Regions from separate parts of the Homo sapiens genome. Here region 1 is linked to region 2. Evidence: promoter capture Hi-C in 16 types of primary human blood cells and fetal thymus (Javierre and others, 2016). All regions are on one chromosome and are shown on one strand. Each heading gives the region's core, a stretch centred on a gene start or on the middle of the fragment in contact. The rest is flanking DNA. Distances are from core to core; before and after follow the strand shown. Region 1 has its middle 74 kb from the start of MARCO. Region 2 holds the start of C2orf76 (chromosome 2 open reading frame 76).

What was found. The method cuts DNA at HindIII sites, captures the fragments that hold promoters and counts their contacts. A CHiCAGO score of 5 or more calls a contact.
Region 1: a contact is called between a fragment that was not itself captured here and the fragment with the promoter of C2orf76 in region 2, in 1 of 17 cell types (M2 macrophages). The highest score is 5.0, in M2 macrophages.

What each region holds. Positions count from the first base shown.
Region 1 is chr2:119,013,102-119,018,656 of GRCh38, forward strand. No RefSeq gene overlaps it. Among named protein-coding and RNA genes, the nearest start is that of MARCO, 74 kb to the left of the region's middle. The HindIII fragment of the contact is 693 bases long and covers 3,425-4,117 here.
Region 2 is chr2:119,362,584-119,369,007 of GRCh38, forward strand. C2orf76 (chromosome 2 open reading frame 76) reads right to left here and starts at 4,251. Exons shown (of 6, transcript NM_001322331.2): 1 at 4,207-4,251. DBI (diazepam binding inhibitor, acyl-CoA binding protein) reads left to right here and starts at 4,394. Exons shown (of 4, transcript NM_001079862.4): 1 at 4,394-4,477; 2 at 5,605-5,722. The coding sequence starts at 4,469. RefSeq lists enhancers at 3,825-4,084, 4,455-4,784, 5,315-5,514 and a silencer at 4,205-4,354. The HindIII fragment of the contact is 12,909 bases long and covers 1-6,424 here.

The sequences.
Region 1 (5,555 bases), core at 2,521-5,020, 350 kb before region 2:
AGCCCAGCAGCGGAGCCACGACAGCATGGGGCAGGGACAGGCCAAGGGGCATGGGATGGGAGGGCCTGCAATGCACAGAACGGAGGGCAGGGTCCTAGCTGATTCCAGGTTCCCAGCTGGGGTGCTCAGGAGTGTCACCAAAACAGAGAATGCAGGAGACAGGCAGGTCAGAGAGAGATAGGCTTGGGTTTCCCTGTGGAACCTGAGAAGAGCTGTCCAACTGGCATGGGCAGCAGGGACCCTTTGGGGCTACCTGGGCCTGCTGAGGTGGCCCTCTCATGGCACCCCAAGTGTGGAAAGTTCTCAGAGACAATAAAGGCTACTCTGTGATGCTGATTGTGGCTCCTGCTGTCATTGATAAAAGAGGCTGAAATTAAAAATCAGCCTCCTCCCCAGGTGGGCTGCATTTACAGATGCTCCTAGCTCTGCACCCGGTGGCACTTTATCTCCTGGATGAGTGGACTTGACTCTTGGAGAAGCTGACAGTCCAAGGCCACATCCCCATGAGGCACGGAGACCAAGGTGTCACTGCTTATATCAGTATGCCCAGAGAGCCCTCTTCACTCCCATCCATAGAGGGTTAGCTTACAGAGCTGAGGCATATGGCAGACCAGAGGGAAAATTACCCTGTAAAGACTGCGGGCCTCTCAGGCCTTCCTGTAGCAGGAAACCACAGTGATGCACTTACTTAACAAAAGTGTATTGAGCAGCTTCTTTGGGCCAGGCACTGTGCCAGGTACTGGGGATCCAGGGATGAAAGTCCAGATCGAGGCCCCTCAGGACTTCACAGTCTAGTGGACATCAGGCAATTTCAGCAGGGCATGACACACACAGTCACAGGATGGTGACATAAATGCCTAGAGGAAGGGCATTTGAGAAGACTTGAAGAAGAAGAGGAAGCAGGGCACGCTGTGCTCCCCTATCATACTTTCTGGTGCGATCATATGAATTTTTTAATTGAGCATCTACTATCTACCAGGTTCCTGAGATGAAGCATCTCTAATCTGTGCCACCACTTAGAAGGCAATTTATAGTGGGAGAAACCACTCTCAGAAAGGATAACTGGCTTGTTCTAGCCCACACTGCTGGTGAGGAGAGGAAAAGAGGTTCAAATCCAGGGGTATCTGACTCCCAAGGCCCAAACTCTCCATCCTACAGTGCCGTGCACTCCAGCCCTCTGTAGGCTCCGCTCTACGGGAGCCGCTATAGTAAAGTAGAGAAATGGAAGAATACATAACCAAGGCTTGAGCGAAGGCCTAGAACAAAATGTAGAAAAATCAGAATGCCAGTGTGGGAGGATTATTAAACGGCATGACAGCCAGGCACGGTGGCTCACGCCTATAATCCCAGCACTTTGGGAGGCCAAGGCGGGTGGATCACCTGAGGTCAGGGGTTCCAGGCCAGTCTGGCCAACATGGTGAAACCCCATCTCTACTAAAAATACAAAAATTAGCCGGACATGGTGGCACACGCCTGTAATCCCAGCTACTTGGGAGGCTGAGGCAGCAGAATTGCTTGAACCCAGGAGGAGGAGGTTGCAGTAAGCTGAGATCACACCACTGCACTCCAGCCTGGGCAGCAGATGAGACTTAGTCTCCAAATAAATACATAAATACATAAATAAGGTCATGACTTTAGTTGAAGTCCTTCATTTAGAGACAATGGAGGCCTATGGTGGCAATAAGATTGGCCCCAGGACATAGCTGGTTGACTGCTGATCTGGATTAGAACTCAGGTCTCCTGGCTCCCAATTCAGGGCTTCATTCACTCAAGAAGCTGTGCCACTCTTGGAACACACACACACACACACACACACACACACACACACAGAGTTGCTCAAATCAGTGAATGATTCTGTCTTTGGGCAGCACAAATCTTTAATGTTTTGAGATCACAATGAAATGGAAATTACTCAGAACAAACTTCTGCTATGGGAGTGTCTTGGGCCAGATGAAGGGGGCTGGTGGTAGGGAACATCTCAGACACTTTGTAGGAGATCTTCCTGAGGGTGTCAGTGAACAAGACGCAGTGACAAAACGACTTCACAAAATAGAGAAACAATGTGGTCAGAGGGATTGATCAGAGAGACTCCCTGTCCTGGCCCCTGTTCGCTGAGCAATTCAATGACATTTGTCCTGTGTGGGCCAGTTACTCAATTGTTGTCTTAGTATGTAATTTTATTTAAAATATTTGATAAAATAGCAACATATTTAGCTGATTAAAAAGTTCAAACAGTTTTTAAATTTTTTTGTTTTGTTTTTCATTTTTTTAATTAATTTTTAATTTTATTTTAAGTTCCAGGGTACATGTGCAGGATGTACAGACATGTTACACAGGTAAACGTGTGCCATGGTGGTTTGCTGCAGCTATCAACCCATCACTTAGGTATTAAGACCAGCAGGCGTTAGCTATTTCTCCCAGTGCTCTCCCTCCCCACACCCCGCCTCCCGCCATGCCCCAGTGTGTGGTGTTCCCCTCCCAAAACAGTTCTTGAAAACATAAAATACACTACCAGCTTTAGCCTTCCTTTCTACACCGACCCCCACTCAGTTCTCCTCCCAGATGTACTTTAAACTCCACAGTCAAAAGTCAGACTCATGGTTTACACCAAAGGGGCATGCCTTTTTTTTTTTTTTTTAACATATTTTTTCTTAGGAATCTGCTCCTACATTTCTTATCTCACTTGATGAAGCAACCATTCGCACAGTGTGTCAAGCCAGAGGTGGTTATTAGTTCACATGTATTCTCCCCTCAGAATAATTTACTGTAATCCGTATACAGTATATAGGGTTTTTATTAACACAAATGGCATGATACTGAACACACTGTTCTCTGCCGAGCCGATTTTTATCCTTCCTTATGGCTACGGCATATTCCACAGTACAGACGCTGCGTAACTCACTCGCCTGGTCCTCAGTGGGTGGTGTTAGTTGTTTGCAGTCAGCGCTATCGCAAACAGTGCTGCCGGGAGACCCTGCCCAGTGCCTCTTGGTGAATCTCTGCAGAGGCAGCTGCAGCGGAATTGCTGGATTAAGTAGTATATGCACTTGAAATGCTGACATATTCCTAAATTGTCTTCCGATAAGGTTGCGCTGATTGACTCCCACCAGCAATAAGAGGGTGGCTATTTCCCCACACCTTTGGTAATAATTTTCATTTTAATATTTGCCAATCTGAGATGTGACTAACGAAGTGAAGGTTCGTTGTTGTTTTGAATTACACTTCTTTAATTATGAGTTGAGATGAGAATTTTTCCTCCAAGCTTGCATGTTTAAGAACTTCCTGTTCACATCTGCTCATCTAGGGTCTTTTTTTCAATGATTCTCTCAATGTAAATTAAGGAAATTAGTCTTTTGTCTGTCATATGCATTTCAAATACCTTTACAGTTTATCCTGAAGCTTTTTTTTCCCCTCTCTGTACTAAAGCTTTTAAATTTTCGTGTAGTCAAATTTATCAGTCTTTTCCTTTGTGGCTTCGGGGTTAAGCTGTTATTTAAATATTTTATAGCTCATTTCACTTTTCACCCAAATAAAGTGTAAGCTGCTTATAATGTTGCCTGCAGATTCTAACACAATGCCTTGTGTTTGGCAGGTATGCCTTACAGTATTTACTGATAAGATAGATAGATGATAGACTAGATAGATAGATGATAGACTAGATAGATAGATAGATAGATAGATAGATAGATAGATAGATAGATATGAATAGATAGATGGATACAGGAAATATTTTACAGTGTTAACCCTTGCTTTGCCCCATTTAAAAAACTGGTTTTAAAATACCAAATGCATTGTGTATTTTTTGAAACATCTTCTGCTCTTGATTTTCTCAACCTTTCTGGAGTCTCAAGCTGCTTGTCTCCCAGCCTCTCCCTGAGCCTTCCTCCCTGGCTCCTTTCTCACAGCTTGCCCCCTAAAAGTTGACACTGCCCTCGTCTTTCTTCTCTGTCTACATGTTCCCTAGCAGGGATGACACCAAGGGGTGGCTGGGGGTGGTTACCACCCAACTTCATCTGCTTCCTCCCAAAGAGCACCCCCAAAGCAGACAAGGAAGAAAGAGAGGGGAGAAGAGGAGAAAAAAAAGCAGCAAAGTGTGTGTTTTCTCATTCTTAAGTAAAGCTTGAATGAACACATATTTCAAAGACTTTGCTATTTCTATTAGGGTCATCTGAGCAAGAGCAGGGTGCTATATGTGTACATGCAGCCTTGAGCCAAGTGCCCCTCCAGCATTACTACTGCTGCTCTGTCCCTCCTGGGTGTCACCTTGCTGCCTGAGCCACCTTGCCCACTGCCACAGCACTGCCACAGCTCTGCCACCCTCCAGATGCCCCATAAATGCCTTCAACCCACACAATGGGATATATTGTGAAAAGTAAGACTCACCCTGACTGAAACCCCTTGTTCTCATTCCTCGTCTCTGTTAACAGTTTCTTGTGTATCATTCCAAATATATTCTATACATATAAAAGCATGTGTGCTTATCTTTCCACAAGTGTCACCTTAGTACTCATCCTGCTCTGCATGGCACTTTTCACTTAGCAAAGTATCTGGGAGATGGATCCCTGTGACCACAACCTCAATATCACGTTCACATCCTCAGCAGCCTGGTATTCCACTGAATGGCTGTATTGGAACCAATTTAACTAGCTGGCTATTAAAGAGTAGTTAGGCTTCTCAAGTTCTTTGAGGCTACAAATAATGCTTCCATTAATATCTTTGTGTATCACTATCCCTAGAATATTGACTCCATAAGGCAGTGTGGCAGGCAGAATAATTGATCTCCAAAGATGTCCATATCCTAGTCCCCAGACCTGTGAATGTGTTACCCTACGTGGCAAAGGGGAGTTTGGAAATGTGATTCAATTAAAGATTTTGAGGAGGGAAGATGATCTGGGGTTATCTGGGTGGGCCCAATAGCAAATCCCAGGGTCCGAGGAAGAGGAATGCAGGAGGGTCAAAGTCAGAGCAAGAGTGAGGGGGCCATGAACCCAGGAGCGCTGGCAGCCTCTAAAGCTGGAAACAGAAGGAAACATTCTTCCCAAGAGCCTCCAGAAGGAACGCAGCCCTGCTGACACCTCCACAGTAGACCGCTGACCTCTAGAACTGTAAATAATACATCTGTGTTAAGTTACTCTGTTTGTAGCAATTTGTTACCGCTGCAACGAGGAACTAATACAAAGGTGGTTTTGCTGCCTGCACATTGCATTCCCAATGTCACGACCAGTGCCTGGCATGTAGTAGGAGCTTACTACAGATTTGTTGAGTGACTAGAGGTGCATGTGTATTACAAGTGTAAAATAACTCCTGCCAGTGGCACTGCCCTCTGAAAGGGGAGACACATTTAAATATTGGTAAATATTTTAAAAATATTGGTAAATATTGCCGGATTCTCATCCAAAGAGGCTGCGCTGATTTACATTCCCATTAGCAGTACATGACTGCACCTTCCTCCCCATGCCCTGGCCTGCACTGTATATCATCATCATTATTTTGCCAATATAATTCTGAAAAATGGCATCTCATTGTGTTGATGTGCGTTTTTTAATGACGAGTGA
Region 2 (6,424 bases), core at 3,001-5,500:
ACTCAGTACTGAACTCAAGATATTTTCATTATTCCTGCCCATAATCATGAATGCTTCTAAACAGAGCGCAGGCAGCACCTGACCAGTGTATGACCAACTCATGGAGAAGCAATTCTAAAGGAAGTCCTGTCTTCCTTACTTCCAGCCAGCCTAGGATACTTCCCTATCAGAATCTTCCACTCCCAAGCCATCTCTGCAGCTCACCTCAGCCCTAACCACCCCCAGCCCAAGTTGGCTAGGCAAAAAGAAGAGGAAGAAGAAAATGGTAAACATGTGCATGCCACACCTGTTTACTCTTCTCTCCTGCCCGCCTTGCCACAATTCCTCTGAAGACGAACACCCAAAGGAAGGAGAGGGTAGGAATGGCACAGGACTTGCTAACACCTCCAGCTGCCAGGCCTCCTCTCACCAGTTATGAGGAAAGCCAGGCTTCATTCTTACCCCACCCCCACCAACTCTCACCTCCCTCAGCCTTCACAAAAAAACTCCACCCATACCTCCCCAATCCTATCCAGAAGCATTTCCAAAGTCCCTTCTTCCCTTTAAAACTAGTCTCCTGGGCCAGGCGACATGGCTCACGCCTGTAATCTCAGCACTTTGGGAGGCCGAGACGGGCGGATCACGAGGTCAGGAGATCGAGACCAACCTGGCTAACACAGTGAAACCCCGTCTCTACCCAAAATACAAAAAATTAGCCGGGCGTGGTGGCGGGCACCCATAGTCCCAGCTACTCGGGAGGCTGAGGCAGGAGAATGGCGTGAACCCGGGAGGCGGAGCTTGCAGTGAGCCGAGATCGCACCACTACACTCCAGCCTGGGCGACAGAGCAAGACTCTGTCTCAAAAAAAAAAAAGGCAAAAAAAAAAAACTAGTCTCCTCCAGCTCTGCTGAAGCCCTGCCACAGGAGTCACATTCCAAGTAACCGGAAAGAAAATACAGAATGAATGTAATCCATCATTTGTGGATACCCTAACCCTCGCCTTATAGTAACTCTAGTTACTAGAGCAACTAGGAAGCTCTCCTGAAATCGTAGTTCATTTTCTGGTGATTAGGTTACTTTCAGAAATTAGAGGTTTCATTTATACTAAGAAACTTAATATGAAACTACTATTCCCACCTAATGAGCAAGAAATGCTTTCACTTATTAATATATCTTGCCAGGGCGAGGCACAGTGGCTTAGGCCTGTAATCCCAGCATCCTGGGAGGTCGAGGCAGAGGGATCACTTGAGCTCAGGAGTTCAAGACCAACCCAGGCAACATGGCAAAAACCCATCTCTACAAAAAATTAGCCAGGCATGGTGGCACACACCTGTAGTCCCAGCTACTCGGGAGGCTGAGGTGGGAGAATCATCTGAGCCCAGGAAGTCAAGGCTGCAGTGAGCCATGATTGTGCCACTGCACTCCAGCCTGGGTAATGGAGTGAGACCCTGTCTCAAAAAAATAGAGAGAGAGAGAGAGACAGACAGACAGACAGACAGACAGAGATAGGAGAAAGGGGGAGGGAGAGAGAGGTAGGGCAGAGAGAGAGGGAGAGGAGAGAGGAGAGAGAAGAGAGAAAGAGAGAGAGATCTTGCCCATCTGGCTTTATTCTGAGACCCACCGAGTGAAGCCTGTGGCAGACAAGAGTGGTTTCTATGAAAAAAATATAAATAAATAATAAATAAAAAGTGGTATTCCCAGATGTGAAGGCAAACTACAACAATGACAATGGCCTCTCTATTGATTGGCAGGGTCAATTTGGCTGACAAGTTGGCTGGTCAGGTTTCTCATCTCCAGGTGCTCTGCTTCCAAAGCTGGGAGTGGTACAAAGAGATTACATGGTCCTTGCACCAGAGTTCATCTACTTTACTCAACCCCATAGTTTTACATTCAGTTCTAACAAATTTAGATGGTTTCCAAGTTCAGTTAATCAGACAGAATAAATCTTCATAGAGAGAAAAACACTTTATTCATTCAACAACTATTTGTTGAGTGCCTAAGAAGTGCCAGACACTTGGAGATTCAGCAGTGACTGATACACAATGACCCCATCTCCTCCTGGCTTATGTGTGTTTGGTGGGAGGCAGAGGCAGAGGGTTAGACAGTAGAAAAGTAAATTAAAATTAAAATAATTGTAAATAAAATAATTACAACATGTTACGGTGGCTAACAAGGACATAAACAGAGCTGAGGATCTTGCATTCTCAGAATTATGAAAAGCAATATTCAATCAAGGCCAGGCGCAGTGGCTCACACCTGTACTCCCACCACGTTAGGAGGCCAAAGTGGGAGAATCCCTTGAGCCCAGGAGATCAAGACCAACAACATAGCAAGACCCCATCTCTACAAAAAATAAAAATAAAAATAAAAAAATTAGCCAGGCATGGTGGTTGTGCCCACATTTCCAGCTACTCGGGAGGCTAAGGTGGGAGGATCGCTTGAGGCCTGGAGTTCAAGGCTGCAGAGAGCTGAGATTGTGCCACTGAACTACAGCCTAGGTAAAAGAGTGAGACCACATCACACGCGAAAATAATTAAAAAACAAAAACTAAAAAACTAAAAGCAACTGATCTTTGAGAAGTGATAACTGCATTCTCAAAGTACCTAATCTCAACAATACCCTAACTTAAAACCTGCTGACTAGGAGATGTATTTGACTGCAAATCTGGCCCACACAAGCAATAATCTGAGTTTCCATCAAGGAAGCTGTAAGCACCAAGTAGAGCAAAAACAAATCCAGGCCTCAAATGGAAAAAGCAGCTCTGAATTGTGATTTTCGAAGAAACCTGCATTTCTTACACTTCAGTGTACTTTCCCCATATTTAACTCCAAGATTTTTGTTAATTTGTTTGGTTTTCCTTTCTCAAACAAAATTATGCTCAGACTGAAAACCCTAGATTTGTTCCCTATTGCATCTTCATTTCTTCCCAAACATTCCATAAAACGTGACCTACATTAAGTTAGCAAGTTAAGTCTGAAAGCGTCTACCTTCCCTGGGGAGGGGGAAGGTGTAGGCAGGGCAGAGATTTGTAGTCCAGCCCTCTTGCCACAAATTATGAATTAGAGAGGAATGACTTTGCTTTTTTAATGATCTCCAGAGAATTTTCCATCATTTCCCTCTCTTCACCCAGCTCCTTTGCAACCACTGCCAGAGAAGTCTTCCTTTAGCTTCTTAAACATCGATCCTAAAACACTTCCAGACACCTGTGCTGCTCCTTTCAGTTCCCATGGAGATTAGGCTGTGTAACAATCTCGCAAAGACGTTCCCCTCCGTCTCCTCATCCTCTTTTCAAACCCTTTTACGATTTCCCATCTCACTCAGCATGACAGTCAAAGTCCCTGTGATGGCCAACTTCTGCATCACCTAGCCAGTCTGCCACCGCCAAAACTCTCCAGCCTCATCTTTCTACTCTTCCCCTGGTTCCTTGCCCACGCCTTTACACTTGTTCTCTGCTTGGAATCTTCCCTCCCCTCCTTGAGGAACTTTCTCAAATGTCACCTTCCCTCAATACTCCCCCTCCTCCATTTAAAACTATAAACTTCCAACTCTCTAAGCCCCTAAAGTACTCTATATTTAACTTATTGTATAAACTACTGTCCCTACTTGTAAGTTCCAAGATTGCAGGGATTCACCCGCTTTGTTCACTGCTGTCTGCCAAGGTCTAGAACAGTGCAAGTTACCCAACAGGAGTTCAATAAACAGCCATTCATTTAACAAATATTTGCTGAGCACTTCGTCCCGTCCAAGTTTGTTAAATCAAGACAAATAAGACACCGTCCCTGCCTTTAACGCACCAGATGGAGAAATGCACCACAGACATAAATGTGCAATACAGGCCTGACACTACGGCCACAAGCAAGTCAAAGAACGTGCCAAAAGTTCAGAGGAAGAAGCCTCGGCTTCGCCTTTCGGGAGACCAGTCCAGCTTTCCACCATCACGCTGCTCATCAGGGACCATCTCCGGGGGTCTCCTCTAGACCCCAAGGGAGGAGCGGGTCCCGCCCGCCATTCCCAGGTCTCAGAGTTTACTTGTCCAGAGATGCAACTTCCGGCCTCTTCAGGCCGGGCAAGATTTAAGGAAAGAAAAGAAACATAAGGACCTCCGTTCTTCGGTCTCCGTCCCCTCCCCTTCCCCCGCGTGCCGTCCCCACAACGGGCCAGGACTGAACCCAACTCTCGACCAACTCCCGGCAGCAAAACTAAGCACCCTACTTCCGTTGTCCCCACCTGTTCCCGGCGTCCCCTTCGGCTACTCCCGGCGTTTGCGCAAGCGGTCCCACGTGGGCTCGGGCGGGGCTAGCGCCGCGGCGGGGGCTGGGCACGCCCCTAGCGCATAGCTGGCTTCTGATTGGCTTTCCGGTGCTCGCCCGAGCAGGGTTGGGGCGAGTGGACCGCGCCTCTAAAGGCGCTTGCCAGTGCAATCTGGGCGATCGCTTCCTGGTCCTCGCCTCCTCCGCTGTCTCCCTGGAGTTCTTGCAAGTCGGCCAGGATGTCTCAGGTACAGCGCGTGCACAGCCAGGCTGCGAAGGTGCAGCGGGCGGGAGGCCCGTTGGGGGCTCAGCCGGCTGCCAGAAGCTCTCGGGCTCTTTCCTTCCGTGCCCCTCACTTGCTCATGGGCCCATGCCTAGCCCTGATTCGTTGGACAGAGCCTTGTGAGCGGGATTTTCCGTTTGGGGATTTCTAAATCTGCTGCCCACCCCGCAACTGCCGGAAAGTTGCCCATGGGGTGGACTTCGCTGTGTAGCGGGAGAGGGGTGGGAGTCGAGGGTGCTTGATGGAGAGATGGGGGAAGGGGTTGCACGGATTGGAGGAGCGAGGAGACTCAGTCCCCATCCCGAAGCACAGGGCAGGACGTCGCGGCGGAGTGGGGAAGCGAGGAGTCCGTGGCCGAGAGCTTGGAGGTCAGGGGAAGTACGGGGCCGGCTGCTCAGAGTGCGGGACGAGGAGAATCGCGGCCCGGGGAGAGGTGACCCAGGGGCCCCTCCCTTCTCTCCAGTGTAGACCCTTGTCTGAGACCGAGCTATGTGGGGCGACCTCTGGCTCCTCCCGCCTGCCTCTGCCAATCCGGGCACTGGGACAGAGGTCGGTGTTGAACGCGCGGGCCCCAGGGGGAGGGAGGGGACCAACGGGCTCCGGCGCTGACACCGCGGCACTCATGCCCTGTCCCCTTTCAGCTGTTTCCAGCATACTGTGCCCCGTCTGTCCTCAGGCCAGGGCTTCGCTGCAGCCCCGGCCACTCCCTAGTGCCTGGCCCGGTGGTGGCCAGGCAGTTGGCCGCGCTGCTTCTCCCGCAGAGGGGACCCCCACTGGGGGCGAAGGCTTGGCCTGCCCTCTTCACTGCTGTATTTCCAGACCTGATGCCTGCGTTTGTGAGAGCTCTGGATATATGGTTTTCGATTGAATGAGTGAACTGGAGGGGCTTCCCCTTCTTGTGTTGCTGAATCTTTCTAGCTGCCCTGTTGGGGCAGGGAGGGGCAGACACACTTCAGGGGCTGCATTGCCCGAAGGGTGCCACCTTTCCCACCTCTCCATCCCCGTAACTGGGCTGTCATCAGGCCACAGTAGGATTCTTACCCTCTCCCACCCAGAGGAGGCCCTCAATCCTCTCCTCTCCCTTCCATTTAGGCTGAGTTTGAGAAAGCTGCAGAGGAGGTTAGGCACCTTAAGACCAAGCCATCGGATGAGGAGATGCTGTTCATCTATGGCCACTACAAACAAGCAACTGTGGGCGACATAAATACAGGTATGCAGAGCGGGGGTTGGAAGGGCATCTGCTCATCAAAGCAGGCTCAGCAGCTCAGACTGGAAGTCCCTGGGAACTTCACTCTCAAACTGCCTGAGGCCCTACTCTTCAGGTGGGGTATGGTGATGGTTCCTGAGGTGGAAAAGACCATGTTCCGGATTCTCAGTGTCTCCAGTAGTAACAGAATTCAAATCCTGGTTTTAGAAGGTCTTTACTGGTTATCACCAGCAGCTACTCTCTACTAGGGAAGAAGCAAAGGCTGCAGCTTGGAAAAGACTTGCTGAAGGCTCTCAGCTCAGTAGTATCATTGTTGAGCCGTTCAGCTTCTGCCCTAGATGGGCAGGATCAAAGTTGGAGCACTTTTTGGAGCACTTGACAGCCTGGCCAAGCCTGATGTCAGGAGCAGAGAAGCACCTGGTTTCTTGGGCTAGGTCAGAGCATTTCGCTAACAAGTCTGTGCCTTCCTGATGATAACTTTTTCCCTGCCCAGAAATCTTGGTGCAGATTTTGAGGCTGTGCTTTGGACTGTCATGTTCTGTAATAACATCTTTCCTGCCTTGGGCAGGTTTCATTCTGTCCCTAAGTCCCTGAAACATGGGTGGATACTGAGGCAACAGCGCAGTGCATTCTGTGCAAGGACTCAGGGTTATCATGGCAGCACAGAAGGGAGGTCTCCCCTGCCCCTGCTGAGGAAGAAGGCGA